Regions from separate parts of the Homo sapiens genome. Here region 1 is linked to region 2. Evidence: promoter capture Hi-C in human tissues and cell types (Jung and others, 2019). All regions are on one chromosome and are shown on one strand. The core of a region is centred on a gene start or on the middle of the fragment in contact, and the rest is flanking DNA. Distances in the headings are between cores, read along the strand shown.

Region 1 (5,854 bases), core at 995-3,494, 640 kb after region 2:
ACAATGTCTTGTGTGTGTGTGTGTGTGTGTGTACAGCTGCTTTTAAGATTTTTCACTGATTTAAAGCAATTTGAGGCCAGGCACGGTGGCTTATGCCTGTAATCCCAGCATTCGGGAGACCAAGGTGGGCAGATCACCTGAAGTCAGGAGTTCAAGACCAGCCTGACCAACATGGCAAAATCCCGTCTCTACTAAAAATACAAAAAATTGGCCAGGCATGGTGGCACATGCCTATAATCCCAGCTATTCAGGAGGCTGAGGCAGGAGAATCACTTGAATCCAGGAGGCAGAGGTTGTGCTGAGTCAAGATCGTGCCATTGCACTCCAGCCTGGGAGACAGAGCAAGACTCCATCTCAAAAAATAAAAAAATAAATAAATAAAGCAATTTGCTTTCCATCTTGGTGTAGTTTCCTTCATGTTTCTTGAGTTTGAGGTATGTTAAACTTCTTGGGTCTGTAGGTTTGTAGTTTTAAAAAAACTTTTCAATCATTATTTTTTTTTGTTGTTTTGTTTTTGTTTTTTGAGACAGCGTCTTGCTCTGTCTCCCAGGCTGGAGTGCAGTGGTGCAATCTCTACTCACTGAAACCTCCACCTCCCGGGTTCCAGCGATTCTTCTGCCTCAGCTTCCTGAGTAGCTGGGATTACAGGCACATGCCACCACACCTGGCTAATTTTTTATATTTTTAGTAGACACGAGATTTCATCATGTTGGCCAAGCTGATCTCGAACTCCTGACCTCAAGGGATCTGCCCGCCTCGGCCTCCCAAAGTGCTGGGATTACAGGCGTGAGCCACCTCACCTGGCAATCATTACTTCTTAAAATGTCTTTCTCCCCATCCTTCCACCCCCAGGGGACTTCAAATCACACTGCTTGAAGCGGCCCCACAGCTCACTGATGCTCTGCTCACTCTCTTAGCCTTCCCTCTCTGTTTTACGTTAGACGACTTCTGTTGCCATGTCCTTGAGAGTTTTAAGTCCTTGCTTTCCTCCTTGGTAGTGTTTTCTGAAACCTGATGTTTTGCCCAAAACTGATATATTATTTTCATGTATACATGTGTGAGTTTAGATTTGCATGGCTGAGCTTTCATAGCCCATCGTTGAATCATTGTAATATATTGGTCTGTGTCTAAACTGTGATGAAATGAGCGAAAGATTCAGACCCGGCTTAGAAGACGATGTGCAAGTCACAGGCCTTTAAGTGTCCTAATGCCTAGACAGAGAACAGACAACCACTGAGTGAGATGGGAATGTGGGTGAGAGGTTAAGTACAGGAATTATTTCAAGATTGCAAAAATAAGTCTCTTAAAGACCACATATTGCATAGTTCCCTTAACAGGGAAGGCCCAGCCTAGGCAAACTCCTGGACACAGAAGATTAGTGGCTGCAGGCGGGGGAGGGGCAGTGTGCTGACTGCTACAGGAGACCGGTGGTGAATGCAGCGGTGGAGGCGGGCCCAGCGCTGGGAATGTACCACCACCGTCGCGCTGTGCATTTTTTTTTTTTTTTTGAGATGAAGTCTGGCTCTGTTGCCCAGGCTGGAGTGCAGTGGCAAGATCTCGACTCACTGCAACCTCCGCCTCCCGGGTTCAAGCGATTCTCCTGCCTCAGCCTCCCGAGTAGCTGGGATTACAGGCACGCACTACCACGTCCAGCTAATTTTTGTATTTTTAGTAGAGACGGGGTTTCACCATGTTGGCCAGGCTGGTCTCGATCTCCTGACCTCCTGATCCACCTGCCTCGGCCTCCCAAAGTACTGGGATTACAGGCATGAGCCACAGAACCCGGCCATGCGCTGCGCATTTTACGCGGATGAAGCGGATGGCCTGGGCACTGTGGACTGTGGGTCCAGGGAGCTGTTTTGACAACGTCTTCATTCCTGCCGCTGTAATGGGGCGCACGTGCACGCACGGACGTGGCTTCTCCCCAGGGTGTCACCGCGTAGGTATCACGCTGATTCCAGCGCAGCCGCCCTCGCCGGGCCTCAGCGGGGAGTGGCCGGGCAGCAGGGGCGTGGCTGGGAACCGGGCGTGGCCTGAGCTGGGGGCGTGGCCTAGCTGTGGGGGCGTGGCTGGGCCGTGGGGGCGGGCCCTCCGCGCAAGCATCCGCCGACGTGGGGCGGGGCCGGGCGTGCGGGCGGTTGGGCGGGGGCGGGGCCGGCGGCGGCGGGTAACGGAGGGGGCGGGGCTGGCGCAGGGGTGGGGTTGCCGTTGCGGGGCGGGGCGGCGCAGGCGCTGTGCGCGGCACTCAGCGGTTTTCCCTCCCCCAACGGCGCGCCGGCTGTGGCCGGCGCAGAGTAGTGCTCGGGCCGGGGGTCGCCTCCCGCCTCCCGCCTCCCGCCTCCCGCCGCCCGCCGCCCGCGTCGCCCTCGCCGCCGTTGGGCCGCGCCGCGCCGCCATGTCGGGCCCCGGACCGCGGGAGCCGCCGCCGGAGGCAGGCGCGGCAGGCGGCGAGGCGGCCGTCGAGGGCGCGGGCGGCGGGGACGCGGCGCTGGGCGAGCCGGGGCTGAGCTTCACGACCACCGACCTGAGCCTGGTGGAGATGACGGAGGTGGAGTACACGCAGCTGCAGCACATCCTCTGCTCGCACATGGAGGCGGCGGCTGACGGCGAGCTCGAGACGCGCCTCAACTCGGCGCTGCTGGCGGCGGCGGGCCCGGGCGCAGGCGCGGGCGGCTTCGCGGCGGGCGGTCAGGGGGGCGCGGCGCCCGTGTACCCCGTGCTGTGCCCGTCCGCGCTGGCGGCCGACGCGCCCTGCCTGGGCCACATCGACTTCCAGGAGCTGCGCATGATGCTGCTAAGCGAGGCGGGCGCGGCGGAGAAGACGTCGGGCGGCGGGGACGGAGCGAGGGCCCGGGCCGACGGCGCCGCCAAGGAGGGCGCGGGCGCGGCTGCGGCTGCGGCTGGACCCGACGGCGCGCCCGAGGCCCGGGCCAAGCCGGCCGTGCGCGTCCGCCTGGAGGACCGCTTCAACAGCATCCCCGCCGAGCCGCCGCCCGCGCCGCGCGGCCCCGAGCCCCCCGAGCCGGGCGGGGCGCTCAACAAGTGCGTGCCCGGCGGCCGGGGGCTGGCGGGGCCCGGGTGGAGGCCGAGGCCGGGGCCGGGGCCGGGGCGGAGGCAAAGGGGGCCCTCGCTGTGCACGCCCCCAGCCTGCCCTCCCGGCGGCACAGGGCGCGGACCTCACCGGGTCTGGGGCCGCCCCGAAAGGCTGTGTGCGCTGTGCGGGCCCCGGGGAGCAGGTACTTCCAGAAACTAAACACCCCCTCCCTCAGTGGCCCCGCCTGGAGTGGGGCCGAGCGCGCAGAATTCCTGGGAACCATGTGCTCCGGGTGGCACTCTTGGATGTCAGGGAAGCCTAGGAAGGCCCGACGGGGGTTTGCAGGCTTTGAGCTCTAAAATGAGGCTCCAGCCTGCAGCCGCCCCCTTGGCGACCCTCAGGGATGGCTGTGGAAGGGGCTGCGTCCGCAGTTTTCTGCTCATCCCAGCCTGTAGTTGCCCATCGTGGTCACACTGGAGGATGGCAAAAGTGAGATTGGTGTCAGGATGTGATGAGAGCAGGGAGGTGGCGCAGTTTTGCTTTTCCTCCATAGGAAGAGGAGGACTTCCACAGCAGCGATAGTTGCTAATTGTTGTGTAGAGATTTCCAGGATGAGAGTTGGGTTGCTGTCTGGAAAAACTAGCCAGAGCCATGGGAGTGGGATGGTGGATGCTTGTCTGCCACGTATTGCTGACACTTCTGGGCTTTCTTTTGTCTTGGCAGTTTGGTAACTCTCATTCGACATCCATCTGAACTAATGAATGTTCCTCTTCAGCAACAAAACAAATGTACAGCATTAGTGAAAAATAAAACTGCGGCTACAACTACTGCTTTGCAATTTACATACCCACTGTTTACTACAAATGCTTGCTCTACTAGTGGAAATTCTAATCTTTCACAGACACAGGTAGGGAACATGATTTGTGAAGCTTTGCTCTTTTGTATTAAATGGGTAAATTTTAACTTATTTTGGTTAGGTCCCAAGTACTTTTTTTTCCCTTCAGTGAGCTTAATAACCTTTTAAGCCGGGCGCCAAGGCCGACACCTGTAATCCCAGCACTTTGGGAGGCCGAGGTGGGTGGGTCATTTGAGTTCAGGAGTTCAAGACTAGCCTGGCCAACATGGTGAAACCCCGTACGAAAATTAACCAGGTGGTAGTGGCGGACACCTGTAATCCCAGCTGCTCAGGAGGCTGAGGCGGGAGAATCGCTTGAGCCTGGGAGGTGGAGGTTGTGGTGGGCTGACATCGCGACCCTGCACTCCAGTCTGGGCGACAGAGTGAGAGCCTGTCTCAAAAAAAAAAACAAAAAAACAAAAACAAAAAAATACCTGTGAAAGTTGAGTGTTTATGTGGTATGCGAATATTTTTAAATCTTCAGTGCAACTAAAGTTCTTCAAATTACGTGTTAGTAGTTTTGATGTTTGTTAAGTGCATTTCATTTGTGCAGTAAAGAGGAGAGTAAGCCACATATTGATAAAATTCCTGTTGCTTCATTTTTTTCCAGAGTTCTAGTAACTCATGTTCTGTACTTGAAGCTGCCAAGCACCAGGATATTGGATTGCCTAGAGCATTTTCTTTCTGTTATCAGCAAGAAATTGAATCCACTAAACAGACGTTAGGTAGTAGAAACAAAGTTTTGCCTGAGCAAGTTTGGATTAAAGTGGGAGGTAAGCGATGAAGCAGCAGGTAGTGGGAGCTTTCTTCTGACTGAGCCCTGTGGCTGATGGCATTTTGGCCTTGGGGGGCAGGGGAGACAGATGGTTTGTACACATGTGAAACAGTCTTGGAGGTGTCTGTGTATCTCAGGGGTCTGTCCACCCGCTTCCCTGTCTTTTCGCTTTAAACATTATTCTGATTCTCAAACATAATTAATCTTGGTGTGAGAACGTTGCGTTTGAGGGCTTTTTCTTAACAGTAAAGTGATAGACTTACATAAATTTTCAGTTATTTTCAAGTTACTGAAAGTACTTTATAGTTTTTTATTTTCCTTATGTTATACTCGATGAGTGAGGCAGTCATCTAACATCTGCCGAAAGCCTTTGGATAGGTGGCTGCTAATAGGAGGACCCTATTAGGGCTGCCAGGGAGAGGCTGTAAGGTGATTCGGAAAGTTTGGAAATAAAGTCACTGCTGAAGGCACTGCTGCGCTAACCTGCATAGTCCCTTCCTCCCTGGGAAACACCTGCGTAGCCCCTTCCTCCCTGGGAAACACCTGCGTAGCCCCTTCCTCCCTGGGAAACACCTGCGTAGCCCCTTCCTCCCTGGGAAACACCTGCGTAGCCCCTTCCTCCCTGGGAAACACCTGCGTAGCCCCTTCCTCCCTGGGAAACACCTGCGTAGCCCCTTCCTCCCTGGGAAACACCTGCATAGCCCCTTCCTCCCTGGGAAACACCTGCGTAGCCCCTTCCTCCCTGGGAAACTGATTTGTGAAGTGACCCGAAAAAAGAACACTCCTTACACTTAGCTTTCCAAGAGTTGGTGAAGACAAGATGGGGAGGAAGAGCTACCGCCTTCTCCCATGTCAGTCCTTCCTTTTCCTCCCTATAAAATTTTATGCCAAAGTATATGTTCACATTTGTAAGATACAAAGATGAGTATTAAAGCAGCCTCTGTGCCGACTACTCAGGTTAAGGAATAAAATATCACCAAAACGACCGAATTCCTCTCTCTCCTGCTGAAAGCTTCATCATCCTTCTGAAATGGGTGCTTTGTGTGGCATACGCGTGCACATGAGCACGCCTGCCAGTCACGTGCCTGTGGTCCTTTGATGGATACAGTTCCACTGACGCACACGTGGCATAGCCTGTCACGCAGCAGAA
Region 2 (5,743 bases), core at 678-3,177:
ACACCGTGGACCAAACGTGTCCTGGCGCCTGGGAGACCCTTTGGAGCAGCCACCGACACCCTTGCCCAGAGTCAGCACACAGGTGCTTTGGGGAGGTTGCCACATTCCACTCTCAGGGGCCACTCCTGTGGGTGGCAAGGCCCCACGGCACATGTGAGCCCCTGGCACTGCTATGGGTGAGCCGGGAGCCGAGGGGGAAGGGGTGTCTGGAAAAGGTAGCCCAGAGTCCTGGTGATCCCTTGGGGGAGTGGGGTGGGCATCCCCGGGACCCCGGCCTGGGCCACTCGAGCACCTGCAGCAAGCCCACTTCCAAATCCCTGCCTAACCTTCAGGCTGCAGGGGAGGCGTTAAATATAGAGACCAGCTGGGTGGGGTGGGGCGGGCCTTGCTTTCTTGCCAGGCGGTTATTTTTATTCCTGGCTCCTGTTTGACGGCATCGGCAGCACTCGGAAGTGCCGGGGCACCTAGCAGGCCCTCCCTGCCTCCTCTCCTGCCTGTGGCCCAGGAGCCCAAGTCCCTGGACTCCTATGGGGCAGACGCAGCCACAGACCAGGGTCCTCCTGAGAGGCCCTCTCCACAGGCTGGGGAGAACTGTTTGGCCCCGACCCTGGGCCCCCACCTTTCCTTCCTCCTCACACCTGCCAGCAGGCCAGGTAGGGGTCCAGTCGCTGGGGATCCCCATGGATTTGCCCAGTCGCAGCTGCTGGGCCCGACCCGGGGCCTCCATGTCAACACCCAGTGGGAACTCAGGGCTGAGAGGACAGGTGCCAGGGCTCTGCCCCCACTCAGCACACACCTCCCGAGACCCCGCTGGCAGGAAGATCCGAGTGCGTGGGGGTGGGGGGGCAGCGTGGGAGGGAAGACCTGAATACCTGGGTGAGACGACAGGATCTTGGGGTCTGGAGAAAGCCCCTAACCTTGGTCTTCACACAACACATGGCTGCCACATCCCCTTCCTCACAACCCACGTTGGTCATTACCCGCGTGTGCCAGGACCTCAGGGACTCCCCACTTCCTACAGAGCGTGGCCCGGTCTTTGGCTTGGCATCCTGACCCCATATGAGCATCAGCTACAAGGCGCTGAGGTGCAGCGGGGTGGGGCGCTGGGCGGGGGGGCCTGGGTCTGTCTGGATCTGACTCGCCCTTGGCTGGCGCTGTTTCCCAGCAGCAGCCGGAGGTCGGCGCACCCGGAGGGGAGGGTCCCTGGAAGATGTCAGTGGGTCTGGGAGCGGGCTTCCGGCGTTCCCTGCACCGTGGGAGACCAGCCTCTCAGGGGGAGGGTGGTTCTGCGCTGGATCCTCGGGGCCTGTCATGGTGCGCCCAGGAGGGCAGGCACGTGAGGACAGGGACTGGAAACCAGCAGATTTCCACCCTGAGGCCTGCACCCCCGGGCCTCATTAGGGAGAGCCCCTCAGAGCCGGGCTTCGTTGGTTCTGGGGCGTCCCCCATGAGCAGGGCCGGGGAGGGGCCGGTAGACCCAGGCTCGTCTCCCAGGCTGCAGCCCACCTGCTCCCCTCCCCCGCCTGCCGGCTCCGGTCCTCGGCGTCTGCCCTGTCCCCGGGGACCGCTTTTCGCGGCTCAAGCGTGTTCCTGCCCTGAGCCGGCTCTCGCCCCGTCTCCCGGGCCCGCCGCGCTCTCCCCGCGCCGTCTCCGTCCCGGTCCCTCCCTCCCGCCGCCTCCCTGCCCTGCCCCCCGCCCCGCCCCCGCCCGCGGCGCGTTTCTCCCCCGCCTCCCGCGTCCGTCTTTGCAGCCCGCGCCTCCCGCATCGCCTCGCGTCCCCGTGGCGCCCGCCCGCGCGCGTCCGCGCCCCGCCCCCTCCCGCGCGGTTCCGCATTGGCGTGCTGCAGGGCGCGGTGCACTGCGCCGCCACCGTCAATAGGTGGACCCCCTCCCGGAGATAAAACCGCCGGCGCCGGCGCCGCCAGTCCCTCTGGCTGAGACCTCGGCTCCGGGTAAGGACGCTCGGCCCCCGGGCCTCCGCCCCCGCCCCCGTCTTCCGAAGAGGGACCCCCGGGGCCGGTCCTGGGGGGCAGAGGGTGGCCGGGCCCCGCACCCGCCCCCGCGCGCGCCCGGAGTCCGGCTTCCGGGGGTCCCCGCGTCGGCCGGGCTGGGCCCGGGGTGGGGGGCGGCGCGGGGCGGCGGGGCCGGGTCCTGGGCGGCGATCGCCCCGTAGCCGTGACCTTGGGGCCGCGGGGACCCTGCGGGCCGGGGGCTGATGGGGGTCGGGCTTCGGGGCGCTGGGCCAGAGGACGCTGAGGGAGGTGGTGAGATCTGGGGGCCCTGGCCTCCCCACCCCCACCCGTGTTCCCACCCCAGGGTGGCTTCTGTCCTCTTTCCCTCCCCCAGCCACCTGTCCGCGAGGAGCAGCGTGGGTTTCTCCACTGACCTCTGTGATGGGACAGGGCTGTGACCCAGGGTCCTGAGTCACAGGGAGGGGGGGAGGGAGGGTGCCCCCTATACCCCCACGGGGCCGAGGGCATCTCCACCTGGCACTTGCTGGGCTCGGCAGGGCCGGGTCCTCCTTCCTCAGGCTGGAACAGGGACCCCCACCTCCCGGCCGCTGTCTGTCCCTGTGAGAGTCCGGGAGGGGGGTGCCTAGAGCTATTCTGGGTTCCTAATCTGGGCAGCGCATCTCCGTCGGGGCTCTGGCCCAGCCTGCCGGGCAGGGATGAGGGGAAGATGGCGCCGTCCCTGCCTGAGGAGGGGAGTGGGGAGCAGTGGCCATCTCTCCCCGGTGGCAGCGGGTGGGGGTGGGGCGCCGTGTCCCTGGCCCTGCCGCCGGGGAGGGGAGTGCGCGTGCAGGACAGGGCCCTGGAGCGCTGGGCAGGTGACTCATCACCCGGCTCTGCTGGTCACGGACGTACCCAGCCTGGCGCTGCGTGGTCTCTCCAAATGGTGGCTAACCCCTTCCCAAGGAGCAGCCCGCGGGCTCCAACGCCCAGTTATTTACAGCAGATGGGGCTGTTTGGGCTCAAGTGTGGGGTGGGGGCAGTGCACAGCCTCTGCTTGCCCTGGCCAGGCCCAGCTGTGGGTGGGGGCCCTTCCCTCCCCACCAAACATGGGGGCTTGGTTTGTGGGCAGGGATGCCTGTCCAGCCTGTGCCAGGACAGTCTCTGCTGGTGTCTCCCCCTGGGGCTCCCCATCACCGGTCTCCCCACCACCACTGGCCCCACAGAATCACTGCAGCCCCCCTCGCCCTGAGCCAGAGCACCCCGGGTCCCGCCAGCCCCTCACACTCCCAGCAAAATGGGCAAGGAGAAGACCCACATCAACATCGTGGTCATCGGCCACGTGGACTCCGGAAAGTCCACCACCACGGGCCACCTCATCTACAAATGCGGAGGTATTGACAAAAGGACCATTGAGAAGTTCGAGAAGGAGGCGGCTGAGGTGAGCTCCCCAGGCTATGGTCTTGGCCCCCTGAGAAGGAACCCCCAACTCCCGTGGTGGCCAGGCTTGGCATCTCCCAGCCCCAGGGCATGGGGCTCAGGTGACCTCCTCCAGGGCAGGAGGGACCCCCGCTGTGGGGCACTCAGGCCTCAGAGGGTCTGGTGGGGCAGCCTCTCTCTTAGGGGGAGCTTGGTGGGGGAGGGGTGGCCATCGAGCTGCCGGACTTGCCCTGTGGTGAGGGAGGTGACCTGGGAGGGTCTGCAGAAGGCTCTGGAACTCTGCCATGTTGAGCTGGGGCTGGAGGGCGCTGGAGCCTTACCCCCTTCCCCCCAGGGCCAAGGCTGGGGCTGGAGATGGTACTGCCCTCACTTGTCCTAGGGCCCTGCCAGGGCACACGCTACTATTAATAGCTGATTGATGGGCAGCCGGCCCGTCTGCTCCATTTTCTTGTGCTGGGCTGTGGAGGGCTGCTGTCCAGGGCAGCCCTGGGGTGGGGGTCCTGGATGAGGTGACCTCCTAGCTGACCTTTTGAAGCGATTTCTCTTTGGTGGCTGAGACGGTGGTGGGGAGCGGTCATGAGACGGGGTCTGCTCTCTGATCCCCATCCCCCACCCAGGACTCTGGGGAGAAGCCCACTCCTGGGAGGGCCTGTGGGAGCTCTCACCTGGATGATGAGGGCGGAGGCCAGGGCCCAAGGTGGGGGCACTCGCTGTCCTGGGCTGAGCCTCTGCCCTGGCGGGGTTGGGGGTGCTCTGAGCTGCACCCCTGAGTTTGGGCTGCATCACCCTTTACCTGGCCTTGTCAGGAGGAGGCGGGGGTTTCAGAGGGCCGCTGTTTCAGGCCCCAGCTGGGTCCCATCTGGGTCTGCTCCAGACTGGGCAGCCTCCTGGAGGGCAGAGTCCTGTCTGTGCGAGGCCCTGGCGAGGAGTTCTGCCCAGCTGGGTAGTGACCGCCGCTGCTGCCCTGACTGAAGCCCGTCCCCTTCTGTGGGGGTCTCACTGGCCGAGGCCCCCCAGCTTCCCGTGTCCGGCAGAGCGAGGAAGGGGAGGAGAAGCCTCAGAGGGATGGGGAGGCTGGAGCAGCGGGAAGGAGCTGCGTGGCCAGGCCCTCCTCCTGACCTCATTCAGTTTTCCTTTCTCCTTACCTTAAAAAAACACACACACACAGAGGGTTATTTATCTGACAGCCCCAAACACGGTGGTATTATTGGCCTCTGGTTGAGGAAGGGATCTGGGGGCGTCCGCAGCTTCAGATAAAGGGGAGCCCTCGCCCGGGAGGGGTTTATCCCATCTGGCGGCTTCGCTCGTAGAGCGAGCGACTCCCAGGCCCTTGCGCCACCTGCTGGTGGACCTGCGTAGCCGCGCCCATTTCGGAGCAGGTGCGGAGGCCGGCCCTGGGGGGCAGGGTCTGGGTGTGGGGTCCCGACGGAGGGGGCCGGCGTCCCAGGACCCCGACGGAGAGCAAGGGGGTGCTGGAGCCCATCTCCCGCCTCTCGCGGCCACTCTGCTGTAACAAGCAGCTCGCACCACCAGGGACTCCTGGGTCCCGGGTCCCGCCCTCAGCCGTGACCCTCACCCGCTCCAGATGGGGAAGGGATCCTTCAAGTATGCCTGGGTGCTGGACAAGCTGAAGGCGGAGCGTGAGCGCGGCATCACCATCGACATCTCCCTCTGGAAGTTCGAGACCACCAAGTACTACATCACCATCATCGATGCCCCCGGCCACCGCGACTTCATCAAGAACATGATCACGGGTACATCCCAGGTGAGCAGGGCACAGCAGGCGGGGCTGGGGGAGAGGCCGCTGCACCCTTCAAGGGACACTGGGGGCCCCTGGGGTCACTGGGATGGTAGGGTCTCCTGTGCTTCCTGTGAGGGCAGGGGACCCCTCACCTGGGCCACCCTCACCCAGTCTGGCTCAGAGCCCCCCTAAGGATGAATCCAGTGCTCTGGCATCTGAACCAGTGCCTGTGAAGGCATCCAGCCAGTGTCAGAGTCCCCAGATAGATGGGGGCAGATGGGGACGTGGACACACCTTCATACATGGAGGGGTTGGAGGCCAGGATGGGGAGAGTGAGCAGTGGGCAGAGGTGCCACCCGCCAGGTGTAGACTGTATGACATTTCAGGGCACTCACAGAGACGCACGGACACCCCAGACACAGCACCCTGCAGACAGCAGGACACATGCCACCACCTCCAAACTGCTTTGATAACTGTGACTTCTATCCGTCCTCAAGTGAGGAACAGGAGCAGATAGGCTGAGTGACTTGTCCAGGGACACACAGCCCACTGGTGGTGGAGCCAGGGCTGAACCTCGGTCCCCTGACCCAGGGCCTGGCGATGAGCCCCCATG

The links. The method cuts DNA at HindIII sites, captures the fragments that hold promoters and counts their contacts. A contact is called where the count stands out against the background at its distance.
Region 1: the fragment with the promoter of TCFL5 here is called in contact with the fragment with the promoter of EEF1A2 in region 2 in 1 of the 25 tissues and cell types used here (heart right ventricle).

The regions. Positions count from the first base shown.
Region 1 is chr20:62,858,212-62,864,065 of GRCh38, reverse strand. TCFL5 (transcription factor like 5) reads left to right here and starts at 2,244. Exons shown (of 6, transcript NM_006602.4): 1 at 2,244-3,042; 2 at 3,758-3,941; 3 at 4,540-4,702. The coding sequence starts at 2,396. It overlaps LOC105372717 (a long non-coding RNA gene), which reads right to left and starts at 2,631. Exons shown (of 4, transcript XR_936989.4): 1 at 2,525-2,631. RefSeq lists silencers at 1,836-1,935, 1,986-2,175, 2,676-2,825 and an enhancer at 1,797-2,451. The HindIII fragment of the contact is 8,054 bases long and covers 1-4,840 here.
Region 2 is chr20:63,495,267-63,501,009 of GRCh38, reverse strand. EEF1A2 (eukaryotic translation elongation factor 1 alpha 2) reads left to right here and starts at 1,927. Exons shown (of 8, transcript NM_001958.5): 1 at 1,927-1,952; 2 at 3,176-3,390; 3 at 4,975-5,154. The coding sequence starts at 3,247. It overlaps LOC124904955 (a long non-coding RNA gene), which reads right to left and starts at 2,728. Exons shown (of 2, transcript XR_007067719.1): 1 at 2,387-2,728. RefSeq lists enhancers at 1,293-1,862, 2,123-2,918, 3,544-3,713, 4,511-5,306 and a silencer at 4,707-4,916. The HindIII fragment of the contact is 29,943 bases long and covers 1-5,743 here.